Linked DNA regions of Homo sapiens: region 2 is linked to region 1. The links are contacts of gene promoters, found by promoter capture Hi-C in human tissues and cell types (Jung and others, 2019). All regions are on one chromosome and are shown on one strand. The core of a region is centred on a gene start or on the middle of the fragment in contact, and the rest is flanking DNA. Distances in the headings are between cores, read along the strand shown. Region 1 holds the start of ARMC9 (armadillo repeat containing 9). Region 2 overlaps PSMD1 (proteasome 26S subunit, non-ATPase 1).

Region 1 (6,781 bases), core at 2,112-4,611:
AAAGGTCATCGGCTGCAAGTAAGAAGCATGGTGACAGTTCGAAGAGAAGGGAGAGTGGGAACGGAAGGGAGGGTGGGAACCAAAGCGACTACAGCAACATGGCAGGGTTGCTGGTATTATAGTCCATTTAAGATCTCTGCACTTGAATCTAAAATGGAATCAGTCTGCACAGTTTTGCAGCTCTTCTCCAGGCACTTTCAGCTATCTGAGTTAGGTTAACCAATGTGAGAGGTTCTTCTAGAAGAGAGAGGAAAGGGAAAACAGTACAACCACGATGGGACACTGGAACTAATCAGGTTAAGAATGGGGGAGGGGAACACACATAAGGCGGCTGCAGAGCAGTGAGGAAGCAGTGGGGTCTGAGACCTGCTGAAGGAGGCACATTCCAGTGAGTGTGAAAGATGGAAAGGAGTGGGCAGAGAGTGGGACAGATGCCTGAAGGCAAGACTTTGAAGGTGACTAGTACTAAAAAGCTCCCGACCACGGGAGTGGGCAGATGAGGAGGATGGAGGAAAGAGACGCCTGCAAGTAAGGAGGATGAAGAAACTGGAGGGGCCAGGATGTGGAAACCCCCAAAAGTGAAGTAAAAGAGATGAAGGGATAGGCAGCCAGCCGGGTGCTGGAGGCTCCAAGGGAACTGGAGAGACTTGCCCTGGGAAGTGGCTACCTCAGGGAGGGCTGGCAAGGGGTATGGCATCTGCCATGTGCTTCAAAGGAGCTGGGGTTTGTGAAGGAGTGGGTAGTGATCTGGAAGCAGTAATGAGGAGCAGGGAGGACACCTCCCCATGCACCACACCAGCCCTGCCAGATGCAAAAGGGGAGAGAAGAAAGGCAGCTGCTCCTGGGGGACACCCACCTCTCCAGCCTTTTTCTGGACCATGCCTCCAATCCATCCACCTCCCCCTACCTGATCCCTCTCCTTGCTCCCTTCCACCAATCCCACACTGGACCCTGCCAACAGCGAACTCCTGGCCATTCCCCCATGCAACAAGCTCTTCCAGGATCCTAAGCCTGTGGTTGATGTATGCTCTGCCCCCCCAGGCAAACATGACTCATGATTCTAAGCCAAGCCAGATTTAATCTCTTTTCAAGAAGTCTTCCATGAAAAACCCCTCCCTTCTTTCCCTACCAAGGCTTTTTTTTTTTTTTCTTTTTCTGAGATGGAGTTTAGCTCTGTTGCCCAGGCTGGAGTGCAGTGGCGGGATCTCGGCTCACTGCAACCTCCACCTCCTGGGTTCAAGTGATTCTCCCACCTCAGCCTCCCAAGTAGCTGGGGTTATAGGCATGCGCCATGACGCCCAGCTAATTTTGTTGTTTTGAGATGGAGTTTCACTTTTGCCGCCCAGGCTGGAGTGCAAAGGTGCAATCTGGCTCACTGCAACCTCTGCCTCCCAGGTTCAAGTGATTCTCCTGCCTCAGCCTCCCAAGTATATGGGATTACAGGCGTCCGCCACCAACGCCCAGCTAATTTTTGTATTTTTAGTAGAGACAGGGTTTCACCAGGTTGGCCAGGCTGGTCTTGAACTCCTGACCTCAAGCGATTCACCCACCCAAAGTGCAGGGATTACAGGCATGAGCCACTGCACCTGGCACTTCTTATAACCCTGTTCACAAAGACAGGGAGCTGTATTTCAACTTCATATCCCCAGAACCTAACAGAGTGTCTAGTAAGCAAGAAAGGTACTCAAGGCATATAATGAATAAATGAAGCCGGAGCTGAGGGGATGTCATTTTAAAGGCCCTGGAACGGGAAAAGTGAGTTTCTGAGAATTTGAAACCTTGAGGCCAACCTCAAGGCCTTTGCGCATATTACTCTCTCCGCCTAGAACACTCTTCCCTCTCTTCACCTGGTTAACCACTGTGCCTAATAAACATCACCTCCTTAGAGTAGACCTCCCTAAGCCGTTTAAATAGTATCTGCTGTGATCAACTGTCATTGAATGTGAGTGCTGCTGGGTATCCTATTACTCAACATTCTTAGAAATTACAGAATTGGCCAGGCACAGTGGCTCACACCTGTAATCCCAACACTTTGGGAGGCTGAGGCAGGCGGATCACCTGAGGTCAGGAGTTCGAGACCAGCCTGATCAACATGGTGGAACCCCATCTCTACTAAAAATACAAAAATTAGCCGGGCGTGGTGGCGTCTGCACCTGTAATCCCAGCTACCAGGGAGGCTGAGGCAAGAGAATCGCTTGAACCCAGGAGGTGGAGGTTGCAGTGAGCCGAGATCATGCCACTCCACTCCAGCCTGAGCGACAGGGAAAGACTCCGTCTCAAAAAAAGGAAAAGAAAAAGAAATTACAGAATTTTCTCTAAACTTTTATATCATAATAGGTATCATTTATTGAAGGTATATGGTATGCCAGGCAATGTGCAAAATGTTTTACATTTAACCTTCATAGTAAACCTGACAGGTGAATATAGTTTATATTTTCCCATTCCAGATGAGGCAATTTGAGGCCCAGGAAGTCTGACACACTCCCAACAGCCACAGTAAGTGACTAAGCGGCTGAAAAGAACCACTACACAGTATTTCCCAAAGTCTGGACCACCTAAATCAGAATCAGCTGGCACGCTTGTGCAAATGAAAATTCCTGCCTCCACCCTGGTCTTACTGAACACCGTGGCAGGCACCATGCCCAGAAATCTGCCTTTTAAACAAGCTCCCTGAGTGACTTTTACACACTCTCAAGTTTGAGAACCAGTGCTCTCCTTTATGCGGAAACTAAGAAAAACTTTTCCAGTTACATTTGGGGATTGCAGCGGCAGCTTTTGAATTCCTATATAAGAAAGATTTAGGGCCCACAAACGGGTGGGATTATGGGATTTGTATGGAAGCCGAATCTGCATAGCACGCATCCTGTTTTTCCTAAGATTAGGTGAAGTCTGGACTTCAACTGGGTGCCTCAGGAACGCGGCTAGCAGATGGAGATTATCAGGGGGATCTAAATCCCGGATAACCCGCTCGCGCCGCCACCACCAGCTGGATGGCTTGAGGGACCCCCTCCAAGTATGGCCCACTGCAGCAAAGATCAGGGACTACTTGCGGGAAGCAGCTGGGCCTGTCCTTTCTTGGGATGTCCAGGCGGCCGCCTCGGCCCTTGCCGAAGAAAGATCCCTGGACCGCAGGCGAGAAGTGGTAGCATCCGGCGGCGGCGGAGCGGGCGCGTCGGGTTTTTCCTCGGAACAAGAGGTCCGCAGAGCCTCGGCCCTCCAAACGCACCGCTGCTCCTCCCAGCACCAGGACGGCGGGCGGAGGGTGGCCCGGCTGCATCCGGGGACGCGCTTACCTGCTGCTCGGCCGCGGACACTCGCGCTATCCCAGCCCGGCCGCCACCTCCGCAGCCGTCACCCGGGCAACCGCCGCCGCCACCCCGGCGTCACGTGGGGGCGGCGCAGCCAATCGCGCGGGGCGCCGCCGACGCGGAGCAGCCTGGGAGGGAAGGTGGGCGACCCCGAAACTTCCTGGCGGCGGAAGTGAGGGTCCACAGCCCAGCAGTGGTGAAGGTTCACGCGCTGGATGACCGCGTCTTCTGTGGTCCTCTCCACCACTCCACTTTCGTTCGTTCATTCATTCGTTCATTTCCCTTTCGTTGCGCCAGTCGCTGCGCCGGCTCTCGGGATGAGCCGGAGCAGGCTCAACCCCTTGTCTCAAGGAGCTCGTGGTCGCGTAGAGAACACAAACTAGGACAGTGTGGTGTCCGTGGGGAAAGAGTCAGGCATGGTTATTCCCATCTTAAAGGAGGGACCTGGGGCCACCTTAGAACCAAAAGTGACGCCCAAGATGTGCATTAAAGCTCCGGGGACCAGGGTCCCGCCCCACTGCAGCGGTTTCCAAGGATTTCAGAGAAACTTTTTGTTTTCCATGTCAAATGTGGGCTATTAAAAATAAATCAGGAGCACACGTCTTCCCTCTCTTTGCACCTGATGCTTTTGAACTGAAGTTCATCAGCACTGAATGAGCACTTGCTAGTCACCCAACTTTGTGCTGGAGGGTGAAGAGATGGCCATGGATAGAAAATCCCTCCCCTCCAGGCGTTGAGATTCCGTGGGAGTCTCTCGTTGCCACCTCAGTGTTTCCACCTCCATGCTTCCAAGAAGGAGGAGGCTACCAGGGCCAGAGACAGGGAATGGGGCACGGAGAAGGTAGGTCAGCTCGCCTTTGAAGAAGCCCTAAGATGGGCTGTGGCCACCACTTCCCCAGTCCCCAACCCTGCCAGTGGATTGTCTTCCAAAAGAAAAAAAGCTGTATTTAGTAGAAGAGAGCCCTATCTTCTGTCCAGGTAATATGGATTGAAAATAAATCTTCAATCCATGGCCATAATATTTATCGTCAACACAACTGTATGCCGGGAGATGCCAGACAAAATATAGAACACACAGTTAAATGTAAATTTTAGATAATGTTTTAGTGTAAGTAAATCCCAAAAACTGCTTCATTTTATTGTGCATGTAGGATGTTATATTGTTCTGTATTTTTGTTTGCAAAACGTGCAGCCTATATGTGTGCCCAGCATTGTGCTAAGTGAATCATATAGATTGTTTTCTTTAGTTCTCACACCAGGCCCGGCACGGTGGCTCACACCTGTAATCCCAGCACTTGGGAGGCCAAGGCAGATGGATCACCTAAGGTCACAAGTTTCAGACCAGCCTGGCCAACATGGTGAAACCTGTCTCTACTAAAAATACAAAAATTAGCTGGGCGTATTGGCATGTGCCTGTAGTCCCAGCCACTCGGGAAGCTGAGGCAGGAGAATCCTTGAACCCGGAAGATGGAGGTTTCAGTGAGCCGAGATCACGCCACTGTACTCCAGCCTGGGCAACAGAGTGAGACTCTGTCTCAAAAAAAAAAAAGTTTTTAATTCTCACACCACATCTATGAGATGAATAATATTTTCAGCATTTTACTGATTGACAATGTTGTAATTAACCTGAGCTGTGTGCTCTTAGAAAACAGCCACAGTTAAGAAATCTCACCCACGCACCCCCAAACCTTTTGTTTTCTAAAATCCTCCACACTTTTGTGTTCTGGGAAGTAGCTTATCAGAAAGAACTACCCTTCCACATATGACTTCATCAGACCCACAGTCCTGTCTTTCTCATGCCTCCCATATGATGCACGGATGACCCCCTTGTTTACCTGTGACAAGGACAAATGCAGACCTTTTCCCTTCTGCCTGAGTCTGCCGGCAAGGCCAAGGACAGACTTTTCAGCTTCTCATTCTTTGTCTCATGGTTGATTAGCTGAGATTAGAGCTGTCTGTTTTGTCTTTGGCAAGATGAACAACATGAGGCATACGGGATTAAGAAACTCCTCAAAGTTTACACCACTGAGGAGACCAGGACTAAACCCAGGTCTCCGTGTCTCTGGACCCTGGGCTCTGAGCTGCCGTGAACACCCCACCTGCTTTGCTTTCCCTCCTGAGTGCATTTGCCTGACTGCCGGGATTATGGTCATTGTGGTGGCTATTGTCTTTGTCTGTCTACCTCCCCTCTCCCTTCTGGTAACATACCCCATCCCTCACCACAGGATGGGCAGATGGTCCAAACTGGACCAATCTTACCCCATCCCTCTGGCCTCAGTGATGGGTCCAGGATGGGCATGTGAGCCAAGCAAAGCCAATGATAGTCCTTCCCTGGGATTTTGCTGTTGAAGTGTGGTCAGGTTATTGTAAAGTGAGACTCCAGGGCAGCCTACAGCATTCACTACATGGGAAAGACTGAGAAGATGAAGCCATTACCTAGAGAAATGCAAAGAAAGTGCTGGGGACATCAAATCCCTGGTCCCAGGATCTGAGTTCCCTGGAGCTGCACTTATTCTTACAGCTCCTCCAGCATCCTTCCAATCAACTGTCTTTTAAATTTTTTATTTTTTTGAGACAGGGTCTTACTCTGTCACCCAGGCTGGAGTGCAGTGGCGCAATCTCAGCTTGCTGCAACCTCTGCCTCCTGGGCTCAAACAATCCTCCCACCTCAGCCTCCCTCATAGCTGAGATTACAGGCATGTGCCACCACGCTCAGCTAATTTTTGTACTTTTTATAGAGACGGAGTTTTGCCATGTTGCCCAGGCTGGTCTCAAACTCCTGAGCTCAAGCCATCTGCCTGCCTCAGCCTCCCAAAGTGCTGGGATTATACATATTACTGCACCCGACTTCAACCATCTTTTTAATTTCAACTAGTTTGGACCTGCATGGTGGCTCATGCCTGTAATCCCAGCACTTTGGGAGGCCAAGGTGGGAGAATTGCTTGAGGCCAGGAGTTTCAGACCAGCCTACACAACATAGCAACATCCATCTGTACAAAAAAAAAAAATCCGTCTGTACAAAAAAAAAATTATTTTAATTAATAAACTGGTTCAAGTTGGGTTTCTGTCACTTGCAACCAAAAGAGACCAGACTAACATAGACACAATTTCTATATGTCTGTTTGAGATAGGAAAAACCAAACTGACTGCTTTTACTCTTCTCACACTCAACACATTTTTTTTTTTTTGAGACAGAGTCTAACTCTGTTGCCCAGGCTAGAGTGAAGTGGCACAGTCATAGCTTGCTGCAGCCTCAGCTTCCAGGCTCAAGTGATCCTCCTGCCTCAGCCTCCCAAGTAGCTGCTGGGACCACAAGCACGCACCACTATGCTCGGCTTTTTCTTTTTTTTTTTTTCCTTAGAGGTGGGGTCCCACTTTGTTGCCCAGGCTGGTCTCGAACGCCTAGGCTCAAGCGATCCTCCCGCTTTGGCCTCCCAAAGTGCTGGGATTATAGGTGTGAGCCACCATGCCCG
Region 2 (7,592 bases), core at 446-2,945, 53 kb after region 1:
GGAGTGTCCAATATGATCAGGGGCTGCTGTGCACTGAGACATTAGCTATTAGCTGAGGTACTAGCACTGACATCCTATTATATTCCTATGCAGAAGGGCAAAATGTACAAGAGTGTTTCTGTGGAGCAGATGTGGGTCAAGTGGAAAAGAAAGCTGTCTTGGAGCCATTTGGAACTCCACCCAAAAAGATCGCCTAGGAGGGCAATGACATTCCAAAAGAGAATGTGGATGTACTCATTTCTAAACTAAGATGGTATGTACGATACAAAGTGACTGCAGGCTTTTTAAAAATTACTTTAGAAGGACAGATCAAAAAAGGCATGGACTGCCTAAGTTTGCATCCTATATTATCAGAGGAAAAAGTTATCCCACTGAATACATTTTAAAAGGACAGTGAAAGGCAAAAAAAGAGTTCATTTTACGGTTTTAACACCCCAAGAGTTCTAATTTTTCAAGCATGGTTATATACTTAAATTAACAAAGGGACCATTAAGTCTAAAAAATACATTTAAAGAGCATTACATATTTAAAGTTTCCCCATTCTCTTATACTCTAAAATGCTCTCTTTACTTTTACTTTACTTTCAGTGTTTACCATATTTGAACTAAAAAACGTCCTCAAAAGACGATAAGTTACTAAAGAAAAGACCAAACCATCTCTCTTCCAGGGAATTTCTTTGTTTGCTCACCTTTGGACAAGTGATTTCAGTCTGCTGGATCATGATGAGAGCTGAAGCTATGAGTGCCCCTTGCCTCACGTAGTTCACGGGGTCGTTTGTCATTGGTTCTAGCAAATTAATGGCTTCCTGAAAGAATTTAAAAAAACACACAACTTTTAAATAAAGTTGATATGGCTGAACTTTCAATTTATAGTCACATGCCATGTAACGACATTCTGGGAAGTGACACACTGCATATATGATGGTAGTCCCATTATAATGGAGTTGAAAAATTACTATTGCCTAAGTGACTTATTGATGATACTGGCCCTGTGTAGGCCTAGTATAATGTATGTGTGTCTTAGTTTTTTACAAAAAAGTTTAAAAAATATAAATAAATCATTTTGAAAACAGAAAAAACCTTACAGAACATAAAGAAAAAATATTTTTGTACAATGGTACAATTTTTTTTTTTTTTTTTTTTTTTTTTTTGAGATGTAGCTTCAACTCTTGTCACCCAGACTGGAGTGCAATGGCGCGATCTTGGCTCACTGCAACCCCTGCCTCCTGGGTTTAAGAAATTCTCCTGACTCAGCCTCCAGAGTAGCTGGGATTACAAGTGCATGCTACCACCCCCGGCTAATTTTTGTATTTTTAGTAGAGATGGGTTTCACCACGTTGGCCAGGCTGGTCTCCACCTCCTGACCTCAGGTGATCCACCCACCTCAGCCTCCCAAAGTGCTGCGATTATAGGCGTGAGCCACTGTGTCCGCCCAGGTTTGTGTTTTAAACCAAGTGTTATTACAAGAGTCAAAAAATTAAAAATAATTAAAAATTTATTAAAAAAAGATAAGCTAAGATCAATTATTGAAGAAAAAATGTATACATTTAGTAGCCAAAGTGTACAGTGTTTATAAAGTCTATTATAGTGACAATAGTGTCGTACGCCCTCACATTCACTCAACACTCACTCACTGACTCACCCAGAGCAAGTTCCAGTCCTACAAGTTCCATTCAGGGTTAAGTGCCCTATATAGTTGTATGATTTTTTATCTTTTATACTGTATTTTTACCATAACTGCCTAGTCAGTACAGTAACATGACGTACAGGTATGTATTCTGGAAGCAACAGACCATAACTATCTATGTTTGTGTAAGTATACTCTATGATGTTTGTACATTCACGGAACTGCCATTTCTCAGAACGCATCCCTGTTCTTAAATGATGCACAACTATATCTACTGTCACTCTAAGTCAATAATTTCATCCAACAGTGTAGTAAGAAGTTAATTAACAACTACGTGAATGGAATAGTTTAGAACTGGTCATGCTTTACTTAAATTTCAATATAACTGAGGGTAAGTGAAAAGGAAGCTTTAGAACCTGAGCGCTCTCGTCTTGAGGTAAGAGGTCATAAAAAATTAAGAGAAAATGGGATTAACATTTGATAAACACCTATTACTTTTCAGACACAGTACTAGGTATTTTATGTATTATGCTATATAACCCTCTTACTCCTAAAACAAACAAAATCCAGCACAAAACAATCTTTATAAACAAAGAAACTGAGAGATAGAAAGGTTAAATAACTTGCCCAAAGTCGAGTAAGTACTGATAGCAAACCCAGGCCAGTCTGAATCCAAAATTTGTATAATTCAACCTCTGTCAGGCTGGGTGGGCGTGGTGGCTTGTGCCTGTAATCCCAGCACTTTGTGAGGCCAAAGTGGGTGGATTAATTGAGGCCAGGAGTTTGAGACCAGCCTGGCCAACATGGTAAAACCCCTTCTCTACTAAAAATACAAAAATTAGCTGGGCGTGGTGGCAGATGCCTGTAATCCCAGCACTTTGGGAGGCCAAGGAGGGTGGATCATCTGAGGTCAGGAGATCGTGATCAGCATGGCCAACATGGTGAAACCCTGTCTCTACCAAAAATACAAAAAAAAAAAAAAAAAAAAAAAAAAAAAAAATTAGCTGGGCGTGGTGGCGGGTGCCTGAAGTCCTGGCTACTCAGGAGGCTGAGGCTGGAGAATCGCTTGAACCAAGGAGGCAGAGGTTGCAGTGAGGCAGGATAGTGCCATTGCACTCCGGCCTGGGCAACAAGAGTGAAACTCTGTCTCCAAAAAAAAAAAAAAAGGAAACAAACCTCTTTCAAATATTAGCGTAAGGTTGGGTGCGATGGCTCACGCCTGTAATCCCAACACTCTGAGAGGCAAGGTGGGATGACTACTTGATCCCAAGAGTTCAAGACTAGCCTGCGCAACATAGTTGACCCTGTCTCTAATATAAAAAAGAAAAAAGAAAAATAGTAATAAACAAATATTAGAGTAAGGTAACATCTCAGATGATTTTATAAGACCTAATTTTAAAAGTTAAATCAAGACAAAAAAATAAACAAACAAAAAACCCAAAATTTTCCAAACAAAATATTTTACTAGCTAGTAGAATAGCAAAACAAATGAAATCATAGACTAGAATTGATTTCATGGTTGCACTTCCTAAGACCACAAGTGATGAAATTTTCCAAAATATTTATCAGTATTTCCCCAATATCCTATTCTTCAGAATATCAGTTCTATGAAAAAAGAAGTCCTTTAATAAATAAGTTTGGGAGTTCAGGCATACTGTATATATATCATCTCCTCTTGCAGATACAAAATATATGTATACACTGTATCAAAGGTTCTAGGAATATACATATCATAACAAAAGTTCTAGGATGCCTTATTATAAACCACTCAACTGTTGTTTATACCAGCATTTGTCCAATGTATTTGATCAAAAACTCTTTTGCCCCGTATAACTTCTATTCACACTCTGCAGGACTTTTGGGAAGAGCCACTTTAAAACACAATGTCCCTGGCCGGGCACGGTGGCTCACGCCTATAATCCCAGCACTTTGGGAGGCCGAGGCAGGTGGATCACGAGGTCAGGAGTCCGAGACCAGCCTGACCAACATGGTGAAACCCCGTCTCTACTAAAGATACAAAAATTAGCTGGGCGTGGTGGTGGGCACCTGTAATCCCAGCTACTGGGGAGGCTGAGGCAGGAGAATCACTTGAACCCAGGAGGTGGAGGTTCCAGTGAGCCGAGATAGCGCCACTGCACTCTAGCCTGGGCAACAGAGCAAGACTCTGTCTTAAACCAAACCAAACCAAACCAAACCAAACCAAACCAAACCAAACCAAACCAAACCAAACCCACAACGTTCCTTTAATCTGTCATTGAGATTAGAGTTAAAAAAAAAATACAAAACAACAAGAAAAACAACAAAAAACCCCACAACATCCCTTACAAGGTCCTTAGGTAGGTATAAATCTGGGACGAAAAGAGTAATAGGCTTGTAAGATTATCAGATATTTCTTAATTTGGTAGGATGTTTCTCAAGTATCCTTCATTCCAAGACCAAGGAAAAGAATGAACTGAATCCTTTGTTGGAAAGTGACTTTGGATTCCTCTACATGTAAACTTAACATATATATATTAAAATTAGAGCTATTAACAGATAATACACACAGCAGATATGGGTATCCTTTCTCCCTACATTACTGAAACATGTAATGACACTGTGCACAGGGAGTATGTTTTTCAAACATATTGTCAATATTCTTTATGAAGTAGTCATGATAAAAATATAACCAAATTTCCATTTTAGAAGGTAAAAGACAGTAACTCGGCCTTTGAGGTACATAATACAACCCCAATGGTATATTTTAGAATAAACAGATGTTTCAGGTTTTTAAGAAATAATTAAAAAAAAGTCCCAAACTAGTTACATAGGTACTGATACCTAGATCACATAAATTATCTAGAAATAAAGGCTTGTTTAGTATGAGTAATAAAAAAACTTTTCATTCAATTAACTTGTCAGATGCTGTGTTTCAAAGAACATTTGCTCCTAGATATCATATTAAGTTCAGAATAATCTGAAAAGAAAAAAGAATCTAATTTACATTTAACTTATGAGGCCTGACATAAATGTCAACTTAAGACTCGAGGGGGGAAATACTTAGTAAAACATACAACTATATTCTTCCTTTGTTTACAGAACAGATGTGTTGTAGAAAAAAAATAAGGCCAATTTCTATAACTACATTCGATATACCCAATGACATCTCTAGTAAAACTGAAGATACATTCTCATGTAAGAAATTCTCCCCCCAAATAAATTAAAACATAAGTAAATTAATTAAAAATAAAAAAACTGGCCGGGCACAGTGGCTCATGCCTATAATCCCAGCACTTTGGGAAGCTGAGGCGGGTGGACAACCTGAGGTCAGGAGTTCGAGACCAGCCTGGCCAACATGGTGAAACCCCGCCTCTACTAAAAATATAAAAATTAGCCGGGTGTGGTGGCACATGCCTGTAATCCCAGCTACTCAGGAAGCTGAGGCAGGAGAATCGTTTGAACCCAGGAGGCGGAGGTTGCAGTGAGCCGAGATTGCACCACTGCAGTCCAGCCTGGGTGACAGAGTGAGACTCCATCTCAAAATAAATAAATAAATAAACAAACAAATAAATAAATAAAAACAAAAATAAAAAACAAAACTCTGTAATGACAGAGATGATGTCCAACTTGGTCACCATCACATCCTTTAATGATCTTGCCATCCATCATTCATGCAACAAACAAAGCTTTAATTTTAGGTTCCAGCAGTGAACATTATATTCTCAGTGATCTTACATTTCGGCAAAGACAAACAATAAATAAGTGTAAAATATATCAGGTGGTGGTAAGTGCTGTGAAGAAAAATAAAGCCCAGGCAACACAGCAAGACCTAGTCTCTATTAAAAAAAAAAAAAAATTAGCCTGGCATGGTGGTATGCGTTTGCAGTCCCAGCTAATTGGGAGGCTTGCTTAAGACTGGGAGATTGAGGCTGCAGTGAGCTATCATAGCCCCATTGTACTCCAGCCTGGGTGACAGTGACAAGAGTGAGACACTGTCTCAAAAAAAAAAAAAAAAAAAGTATAGCAGGGTAAGCAGACAGAATAGGATGAAATACTGGAAAGGAGGGATGTCTCTTTACAAATTTTTACACAATTGTTGCCATGTGTAGTGAAAAATAGCTTTTTTTTTTTTTTCTTTTGAGACAGAGTCCCACTCTTGTCGCCCAGGCTGGAGTGCAGTGGACCATCTCCACTCACTGCAACCTCTGCCTCCTGGGTTCAAGCAATTCTGCCTCAGCCTCCCGAGTATCTGGGATTACAGGCACCTGCCACCACACTAATTTTTTGTATTTTTAGTAGAGACAGGCTCTTGCCATGTTAGGCAGGCTGGTCTTGAACTCCTGACTTCAGGTGATCCGCCCGCCTCGGCATCCCGAAGTGCTGGGATTACAGGTGTGAGCCACCGCGCCCAGCAGGTTAATTTTTGTATTTTTAGTAGAGAAGGGGTTTCACCAAGTTACCCAGGCTGGTCTCAAACTCCTGATCTCAGGTGATCCACCCGCCTTGGTTGCCCAAAGTGCTGGGATTACAGGTGTAAGCCACCACACCTGGCCTTTTTTTTGAGATGGAGTTTCACCCTTGTCCCCCAGGCTAAAGTGCAAGGGCATGATCTTGGCTTACTGGAACCTCCACCTCCTGGGTTCAAGCAATTCTCCTGCCTCAGCTGCCTGAGTAGCTGGCATTACAGGTGCATGCCACCACGCCTGGCTAATTTTTGTATTTTTAGTAGAGTTGGGGTTTTGCCATGTTGCCCAGGCTGGTCTTGAACTCCTGACCTCAGGTTATCCAACCGCCTGGGCCTCCCAAAGTGCTGTGATTACAGGTGTGAGCCACTGCACCTGGCCAAAAATAGCTATTTTTATTCCCAGCCTCAATAATCTTTCATGTGACTAGAAAAACTTATTTGTACACAATACCAACACTCTTTTTTTTTTTTTTTTTTTTGAGATGGAGTCTTGCTCTGTCACCCAGGCTGAAGTGCAATAGCGGGATTTTGGCTCACTGCAACTTCTGCCTCCTGGGTTCAAGCAATTCTCCTGCCTCAGCCTCCTGAGTGGCTGGGGTTACAGGCGTGTGCCACCATGCCTGTCTAATTTTTGTATTTTTAGTAGAGATGGGGTTTCACACCATGATGGTCAGGCTGATCTCAAACTCCTGACCTCGTGATCTGCCCACCTCAGCCTCCCAAAGTGCTGGGATTACAGGTGTGAGCCACAGTGCCTGGCCCACAATACCAATATTCTTTATTGGAAAAAAATTCAAGGAATCTAAAATTTTTAGATTCCTGGAATCAGTCCATAAACTTACAACTATGTTTTGTTTTGAGTTTGGACAACAGATGATAAAAAAAGTGACTCCTTTCTCTCTGATGCAAAGGCACTGGGAGCAAAGCCTTGCTCTCAGTCTTATACATACACACTTTGTTAAAAGGTTCACTTCTGGGAGGTGGCCAAGGTTTGTGCATATGTGCTATGAGAGTCAAAGTGTCATGATTATGTCACTGCTGTGAATTATGAATACTTGTTATTTATGCAATAGCACATTTCTTTATGAATCTCATGATGAATTATGTTTTCAAATCATCACCTTACCCCATTCAACTCTTTTTTTATAACTTTTGAGGGCTTAACAAATACCAGGTTACCTATTAAGGTTAGATATGAGAAAACAGGTAAATAGCACATCGGTGATTTGCTTAAAACAGAAATGTTATCAAATCAGCCGATTTTGGTGGCTTCGGATGAGAACCTTGTTTTCCAGAATACTAATTATACAAATTAAACATGTAACATAATCATATAAAATAACCTGAGTAGTTATTTAACAACAACAAAAACTATTTTATTTTCTTCTTCTTCTTCTTCTTTTTTTTTTTTTTTTTAAGAAATCAATGGGCCAGGCACAGTGGCTCATGCCTGTAATCTCAGCACTGTGGGAGGCTGAGGCAGGAGGATCACTTGATCCCAGGAATGTGAGACCAGCCTGGG

Evidence for each region. The method cuts DNA at HindIII sites, captures the fragments that hold promoters and counts their contacts. A contact is called where the count stands out against the background at its distance.
Region 2: a contact is called between a fragment that was not itself captured here and the fragment with the promoter of ARMC9 in region 1, in 3 of the 25 tissues and cell types used here (IMR-90 fibroblasts, adrenal gland and dorsolateral prefrontal cortex).

Annotation. Positions count from the first base shown.
Region 1 is chr2:231,195,211-231,201,991 of GRCh38, reverse strand. It overlaps ARMC9 (armadillo repeat containing 9), which reads right to left and starts at 3,361. Exons shown (of 25, transcript NM_001352754.2): 1 at 3,294-3,361. RefSeq lists a silencer at 3,216-3,555. The HindIII fragment of the contact is 14,859 bases long and covers 1-6,781 here.
Region 2 is chr2:231,139,453-231,147,044 of GRCh38, reverse strand. PSMD1 (proteasome 26S subunit, non-ATPase 1) reads right to left here. Exons shown (of 25, transcript NM_002807.4): 18 at 689-805. Among named protein-coding and RNA genes, the nearest start is that of HTR2B, 18 kb to the right of the region's middle. The HindIII fragment of the contact is 3,934 bases long and covers 1-3,662 here.